Linked DNA regions of Homo sapiens: region 2 is linked to region 1. The links are contacts of gene promoters, found by promoter capture Hi-C in blood cells and fetal thymus (Javierre and others, 2016). All regions are on one chromosome and are shown on one strand. The core of a region is centred on a gene start or on the middle of the fragment in contact, and the rest is flanking DNA. Distances in the headings are between cores, read along the strand shown. Region 1 has its middle 110 kb from the start of CYYR1. Region 2 holds the start of GABPA (GA binding protein transcription factor subunit alpha).

Region 1 (4,118 bases), core at 969-3,468:
TTCAGTTCTAAGTGCAAATTCACTATCATTTTATTTCTAATCTATCTACCTTTAACTGATGTGGCGAGCAATTTGACTTTACTTGGCTTACTATTGTGTTTCTGTTAGAAAGTAATGTGATGCACATACCTAATATGAAACTTTTACAACAGAGAAAGAGATTTTAATTTAAAATAGCTTTCTTACTAGAGCTTGGACCAAGTTCATTTTCAGAAGTTATTAACAAGATGATACAGGTATCAACATAAAAGTGCAAGGGTAGTTGGTCATTTGATTTTGCATTCAGATCATATATTTTATTTTCATTGTAAAATATTTGAACTACTCAGGATCCAGTTTATGAGGGCTCTTTTGTGTGACTGTTACAAGTAGAAACCCATAATAATATAACCAAGGATGTGAAATTGCTTTATGCTAATATTTTAACCTGTGGGAGTGTACTTTCTCCTACTCTTTTTTTGAAATGTACAGCCTCATAGAGATGCATAATTTTTACCTACTCATTCTTAGTAGCAGAAAATGAGATTATCAGTATAGTAAGAAGCTTTTAGTAAATTAAGGAATTAAAAGGATAGTAGTCTCTTTATCAAATACCAGGATTATGACTACTCCTACCTCCTCTTCCAATTTTTTTTTCCGTTGAGGTTTTATAAGTGATTTGCTTCACAGTACAGATGTTTTTATAGATCAGCACCTGCAAATTTATGCTCATTTGAGTCTATATTTATGTGACAGCTGTCAGTCTGAAATCAAAGCTTTGTGAATCATACATTGAGATAAGCTCAATTAACTACATCAAGAAAGTTTGATAGCAAAAGTGGTCCAGAAACATTTCATCATGAAGATTGCAGAAGTCATTGAGTCCCTAGACACAATCCTTGCATCTAAAGTAACAGTTATCAGTTTTAACACAAAAAGTAATAGATGTAGAAGTTACTTGAAATAAAAGGCTAAAATACAACCTTTGTCCTAAATGCTTTTGTAAACTGATCAAGGACTCAAAGCCCACATGCCACATCCATTTGTCACACAGTTATTGAAAAGGAGTCAGTGTTGACTGGTGCACTTGGAGAAGTCTTTTTGCAAGAGTAGAGTGAATAGTGAGTACTGACTGATCAAGAGGAGGCAAATACATGGAGGAAAAAGAGAAAGATCATTTTAGACTGTAAATTCCCTGAAGGTAGAAAATATATCTCTTCATATTATCTGTCAAGCATCTACCACACAGGTTGGCTGAATTATTTTGAAGAAAGTTTGGGATAGCGCAGGAAGAAAAATTATGAAGTGTGCAGGAAGTGGCAAAAATTGACCTATGTTGAGTGGAGGGTATATTCTGGAATGATTAATGTGGATGCAGAGGGAAGATCATGACATTGGCTGTATTATAAAAGCTGAAACAGCAGTAAAGAGTAATTATAAGAGATGATGGGTGAAGTAGTGATTACTGGGTGTCTTTTCAGTGAAATGATGAGTTTATCTGGTTGTATAGAAAGGCGCACCTTAGATTGTTTTTCTGTTGACTGAGCTATATTGCAGCTGAGTAGAGGTAGAAGTTAGGTTGTAGAAAATTTGTGACTATGCAAATAAATTTTGATTGTTTGAGAAAAAATTGGTTCCTTCTCTGTAGAAAAGATGAGCCCAAAGTTTACATTTTATTGTATTATATGACATTAACCAGTTTTGCATTTACTAGCAACTGCAGTTCAGCATTCCTGATTTTATATACACAGCACACACACATATACCCATACATATACATTTATATGTATATATTCTGTTCTCTCTTGAACTGCTTTTAACATCTTACTGATTGTCTCAGCCATTAATTCCCTCACTTTAATCCTTGTTCATTTCATATTTGAACAAGAATCATAATTTTGCCTTTTTGAAAATTTAACATTAGCAGCAGGATAGATTGTCTGGGGAAGAAGTTTGTAAGTCTAGAGATCAATCAAGACTGTTTTAAGGAATTCTATCCCTCAGTACTCAAAGTAGGAAGTTGAGGTCCTACATTTGGGTAACCAGCATATTTTGGAAAATAATGGAAAACCTGAGACGTTTTGAAAGCAAAACCAGAACAGAATTTTTTTTGGGTGTATATATAGACAAGTCAGAGGTAAAGTTGTAGCTCGTAAGCCACTCGAGGGAAAGCAAAGATCTGGGCCACCCTTGATCTTTTTTCTAAGACATGATCTAATATTTTATGAAATGTATCCCCAGGAGGCTTAGGTGACTTGCTTCATTCTCTCCTCTGGGAGTGTTCCTTGCATCATATTGTGCCAGGGAGTTGCTGCCAGGTCTTAGAAGTTGCTTGGATAGTTTACAAATGGGGAAGTACATATTGATAAAGCTGGAAAAAACCTTGGGGAAAAAAAAACAAGTGAAAATACCTCAGCAACAACATACTGTTAAAAATTTCTATTTACCTCTTGTCAACAAATACATCTTTAAATACACAAACATTTTTAAACATTTAAATACAAATACTTTTAAACATATTACTGTGATGGGAAGAATGTAAGCAACCTGTGTTCAATGAAAATAAAAAGTGATGTAATTTATGACATTCATTCAATGGAGTATTATTTATTCATGAAAAAGTATGCTTGTGAAATTGGTATTTTAACAGTCATTTATGGTATGATTTATATGGCAGATTACTAAATTGCAAATAAAATTTGACTTCAACTAAGTAAAACAGACAAACAAAAATATGTATCTGCTGATTGAGACTCCAATGTTGGCCCCAGAAATTTGTATTTATGAATTTCTTTCAGATAATTCTGTTCAGCAACAAGATTTGGGGATCATTATTCAAATTCAACAGATTCTGATTCACAATAATTTATTTAGCAATCTGCTGTCTTCCTGCCTACTGATACATTTATCATTTCAGAAGAGAGAGCAACTTGCATGATTTTAATAGGGTAAATTTTTGGGAAATTTTGATTTCTTAGAAATTTATTCAGTAAATATGATCGAGCATCTACTATGTGTGAGACATGATCACAGAGGCACTGAGGATACATCAACAAACTCCAAACTTGGTAAACATAATAAGTAATATTCACCCTTTATTTAAACTGAGTCACTAGAATGTAAATTACTATACGTACATTCCAGTGGCTTAAATTCTAATGACTCAATGTAAATACATGAAGAGAGAACTTTACATGTTAATGTCCCTTATCTAAAGGAATAACGTGTATGTATGACAGAGTAGCTTCTCTACATTCTTGCCCAAGCATAGCAGCTTTAGCAAACGTGTACATAAGGCTGCCTATGTATCCAGCACTATTCTAAGCATTTCATATGCATCAGGATAGTTAATCACATTTTATTATAGTAGAGTAAAAGATGACAGGATAGTATATTCTGTCTTTACCAGCCCCTCACCCAACACTCAGCTGCTCACTCACTCACGGACAAGAATGCCTGAGGAAGCCCTGGTCATTTCACTCAACATTCCCTCTACTTTGACTGTGCTGGGAAGTCTTTACCTCTTTTCCACTATCAGCAATCCCCCCTCTTTCTTTCCAATTTTCTTCTTTTCCAGTCAACGACTACATGCCCACTAAAGGAGGGCTCTAAGAAGTGGTCCTCCACCTGCAATATCTCATATAAAATCTGCTGTAGGTCTATGATGGAGGAATTCATACAGTGTTTAAAGATAAGAAATACAAAGCTTAGAATGCTGAAAGGTTCATAACTAGCTTCAAACTCTGTATTATGGTTAATTTCCATGTGTGATTTACAAGTGATACTAATATGCTCTTGATTTGTTTTCTAAAATTAGGATCTTAAGAACCACTGGGTTGGTGAAAGAAGTATTGGATGAATCTGTGTTTTCCAAATTCAACCAACTTGGACAAACATAGTAGATGCAAGTTATTAGTAAGGTTCTAGTTATCTGCTTGGATAAAAGCCTCATGAGTGTTCATTATCTTGTTATGCTTTATAACAGACATATGTTACTCTATTATATATATGTTATCTATAAGATATATATAATGTTATATATAATATCAATTAAATTAAAATAGATCAAAAAAAGGAAAACAATAATACAAATATGCCCATTTAAAAATCTGGATAGAATAAACAACACAATTGAATGA
Region 2 (4,118 bases), core at 1,062-3,561, 950 kb before region 1:
GAAAGAAAGAAATCCTACAATCAGGCCGGGCGTGATGGCTCACGCCTGTAATCCCAGCACTTTGTTGTAATCCCAGCACTTTGGGAGGCCAAGGTGGGTGGATCACCTGAGGTAGGGATTCAAGATCAGCCTGACCAACATGGAGAAACCCCGTCTCTACCAAAAATACAAAATTAGCCGGGAGTGGTGGCACATGCCTGTAATCCCAGCTACTCAGGAGGCTGAGGCAGGAGATTCCTTGAACCCAGGAGGCGGAGGTTGCGGTGAGCCGAGATCGCGCCACTGCACTCCTCCACCCTGGGCAACAAGAGTGAAACTCTGTCTCAAAAAAAAAAAAAAAAAAAAAAAAAAAGAAATCCTACTATCAATGCAATCAACAAAATATGCTTCACCTGACAGAATGAAAGCAAACTGTTTGAAGAAATTAAAGAATTCATAACATATCACTTTTATACCCCATCAGGGAAAAATACTTGAGAAAAGGCTACAAGCAAACAACAAATGACCTCACAAGGTCATGTGCCACTTATTATCATTCCTATGTTTAAACACACAGAAACTGAGGATTAGAAGTATCTGGTCAAAGTGGTCGGGCGCGGTGGCTCACGCTTGTAATCCCAGCACTTTGGGAGGCCGAGGCGGGCAGATCACGAGGTCAGGAGATCGAGACCATCCTGGCTAACACGGTGAAACCCGGTCTCTACTGAAAAATACAAAAAATTAGCCAGGCGTGGTGGCGGGCACCTGTAGTCCCAGCTACTCCGGAGGCTGAGGCAGAAGGGCGTAAACCTGGAAAGTGGAGCTTGGAGTGAGCAGAGATCGTGCCACTGCAATCCAGCCTGGGCGACAGAGCGAGACTCTGTCTCAAAAAAAAAGTATCTGGTCAAAGTTACACAGCAAAATCTAACTTAACACATATATGCAAAAAAAAAAATTGTGCAATTCAATGCCACTTTCCCTTCTGGCAAACTAAGGACATGCTTAACATTCAGCAATAGGTTCACCCGACATTTGCTTAGCCCTAGATACTGTGCAAAGTACTTCCATATATATCCTTTCCTTGTACCCTTACAGCAATACTCTCAAAGAGTTAAAGTGTTCTTATCCCTGCTTTACAGATGATAAAACTGTATCTAAGAAAGATTAAGCTGCACGTATTCTCACAGTTAATTTGCTCTAAGTCTGACTGCATAGATGTTACTCCTTCTGCAACACGGGTAAAATCCACTTTCATTGTTTCAATTATCCACCATGTAAGTGCCTATGATTCCCCAATCGCATTTCTAATTTTAGTATTCATCCTGAGCCCCAAATCTATCCACAGCATTCAACAGTTCTCATCTCCCTTATAAGTCCTACGAACTCATCCAAAAAACGAACACATAATCCCATATCAAAACTTGTTCCTTCTCCTTTAATCCCTTTCATTTTTTTTCACTGATTAGTGAATGCATATTGTCCACTAAAACGCAGAAGATAGTCATTACACAAATAGCTGTGAAATACCACCTGACATAAATTCTCTATTCCAGTACCATCGGGTGCCACGAGAGCATATGATAGCGTCTGACATGATCAGAAAGACTGGGGAAGGCAACAGTAAGAAAACACTAGTCTGAGCAGAGGCCTTGTTCTGGGTGGGAGCATGGTTCTATTTATAGTGATGACTGACCGGCCAAAGGTTAGTAGGTTCGCTGCCTCTTCAGTGCATATTCCTATGAACAATCCATAAAGTCGCCTAATGAAGTGTTAGCACCATCGTTTTTAGGTGGGATGCAAACTTTCAATATTATGACTAATTTTTTCCCTCTTAATGGTACACGTTCTGCCTAAGTAGCCTAGACGCTCCCGTGCGCCCGGGGCGGGTAGGCCTGGCCGAAAATCTCTCCCGCGCGCCTGACCTTGGGTTGCCCCAGCCAGGCTGCGGGCCCGAGACCCCCGGGCCTCCCTGCCCCCCGCGCCGCCCCGATTTGCCCTCAGAGAGGGTATCGATCTTATTTCTGGGTCTACGGCAAACTCCAAGGTCTACAAACGTAGAGGTCAGCTGTGACCCCGGGCCAGGCCGTGAAGGTCCCCAGGACACAGAGCTGCTCTCTCCTCCTAGTAAAGGTGAGAGGCAGCCCAGGCCTCGTGAAAAAACCCAGAACTGGAGTCCCAAAAGGCCACGCTGATCTAGCTACCCTCCCAGTCACCTTGCACTCAGTCCCGAGCTGCCAAAGCCTCCGCCGCCACCACCTCCGCTCTACTTCCGGCCCTGGCTCCGCCCCCACACGCCTACCCGCCATCGCAATGCATTATGGGCCGCCGTTTCAGTCGGTCGACGCTCACCGGACAGGAAGCGTCTCGGAGACAGTCTGCGACCGGACGGGTCTAGGTGAGACAGAAGCCAAACAGGAGGAGGAAGTGGAGGGTAAGTGCTTCCGGGTCCCCTGGCACAGCCTCCGCCATCTTTTCTTCGCCTAATTTGACCCGTTCTTTTTCCCCTCCTTGAAACCTTGCTCTGTACGCATGCGCTCTTTGAGTGGCCTTTCCCCTAGTTCAAGCTCCCCTCCGAGTCAGCGTCCTGTTCGTTAGGGTTATCGAAGTGTATAAAGGTGCAGGGAAAGTGAGACTGTGTAAAACAAAGCGGATTGGGGCGTTGTGCTTCCTTGTACCTCGTGAGCCTCCGTTGCCTTGGGCGGTCGTTTTGCGCACCCTGCCGGGAGTTGTAGTCCTGGACCCGAAGGTGCCTGGGAGGCGGGAGGGGGGTTGGGGCTTCTCAGCGCCGATTCCGCGGGAAGGGCCCTGGGACCTCACACTTCTAGTCGCGGGAGCTGCAGGTCTTACCCGGAGAGACGCTGCACGTGGAGCCCTCGCCGCTGCCGTTCTCAGCCGGCTCTGGAGTGCGGGCGGGGGCGACAGGGCCGATTCCGGAGTGGGTGAGTGCGGCCGCCGGGGAGGAGGGGAGCGCGGGCCCTCGCGGGCCGGCCTCGTTCCGGGGCCTTTTCCCCCACAAGGGCCCCCCCGCGGCCGCCTCTGTGTTTTGTTTCCGCTGGTCCCCGGCGCTGTGACTCCCATTTCCGTTCGTGGAGACTTGAGGGAGCCGGGTGGGGAGGGGCGGGAGAGCTGTGCGGGGAGCGAAGGGGAGGGGCGGGGGGCGAGCGGCCTGGAGCCCGGGGGGACCGGGCACCGCCGGGACCCGTGCCGGACGGGTCGCCTGTCGCCGCTCCCTCCTTTCCGCGTCCCCTCCTCGCCCGTCCGCACTCCTCAGCAGTCTCAGCCTGCTCAGCTGGGATGTGGTCCTGACGCCCCCGAGATTTTAAGAGCAAAATGCAGACCCTGTCTCATCGCGGGACTCAGCGATTCACTCATTTCAAATCCGCTCTCTTTATAGAACAACACACACCAGAATCATTTATCAGCGTATATGGTAGCCATCTGGGTTTGTTTTTTTGTTTTTAAGCAAGGAAGTAAACCAAGGAGATAACAATGGGTTGTCTACTTGGAAATTTTTTTGTGTACTAGAAGACACGCTGTATGTGCGTGTTTGGATTTAGGGACCCCAGTTTGATCAGGTTAGCGGACCGAGAGGACAATGCCTAATATTGCATTGCAAGATGATTAGAAATTTAGAAATAAAATTCATTTCATAAGTAGTTTCCACTAATAGCAGTAGGTCTGACTCGTGAGAAGAGCAAAGATTTAGCAGGATTCACTTGAGCGAATTGTAGAACGAGGCGGTGATAACATTCTTCGGTAGTGTTATCTTGAACTTCAGAAGAAACCGCTCAACTCTTTAGCAACTGCTTGAGGGACTAGCCTGTCTCTCAGGGTTCCATCCAGGCTTTCCAAGCTTCTTTATTTTTAGACATACAGTGACGCTGAGTGGACTTCAAGTCAATTTTACCTGAATTGTGTATACAAGAGCATCTGTCATGAGGCATGTATAGTAATGAAGTAATTAAATCATGAGCTAGATGTTAGGTTGAAGCAAATCATCAGACCGAGTACTAAATTAAAACTGTTGACTTTAGCCTTCCCTCAACTCTTTATATATAAAACTCCAAACCTACAGAAGAATTGGGGAAAAAATCATGCAGTGAACACGCAGATACCCTTCACCTGAGGGTCCCAACTGT

Evidence for each region. The method cuts DNA at HindIII sites, captures the fragments that hold promoters and counts their contacts. A CHiCAGO score of 5 or more calls a contact.
Region 2: a contact is called between the fragment with the promoter of GABPA here and a fragment that was not itself captured in region 1, in 3 of 17 cell types (total CD4 T cells, naive CD4 T cells and non-activated CD4 T cells). The highest score is 7.9, in total CD4 T cells.

Annotation. Positions count from the first base shown.
Region 1 is chr21:26,681,919-26,686,036 of GRCh38, forward strand. No RefSeq gene overlaps it. Among named protein-coding and RNA genes, the nearest start is that of CYYR1, 110 kb to the left of the region's middle. The HindIII fragment of the contact is 2,930 bases long and covers 754-3,683 here.
Region 2 is chr21:25,732,661-25,736,778 of GRCh38, forward strand. GABPA (GA binding protein transcription factor subunit alpha) reads left to right here and starts at 2,312. Exons shown (of 10, transcript NM_002040.4): 1 at 2,312-2,918. It overlaps ATP5PF (ATP synthase peripheral stalk subunit F6), which reads right to left and starts at 2,244. Exons shown (of 4, transcript NM_001003703.2): 1 at 2,193-2,244. RefSeq lists enhancers at 1-373, 1,666-1,745, 2,064-2,719, 2,146-2,255, 2,276-2,395 and silencers at 1,856-1,955, 2,896-3,035, 3,096-3,305. The HindIII fragment of the contact is 6,464 bases long and covers 1-3,830 here.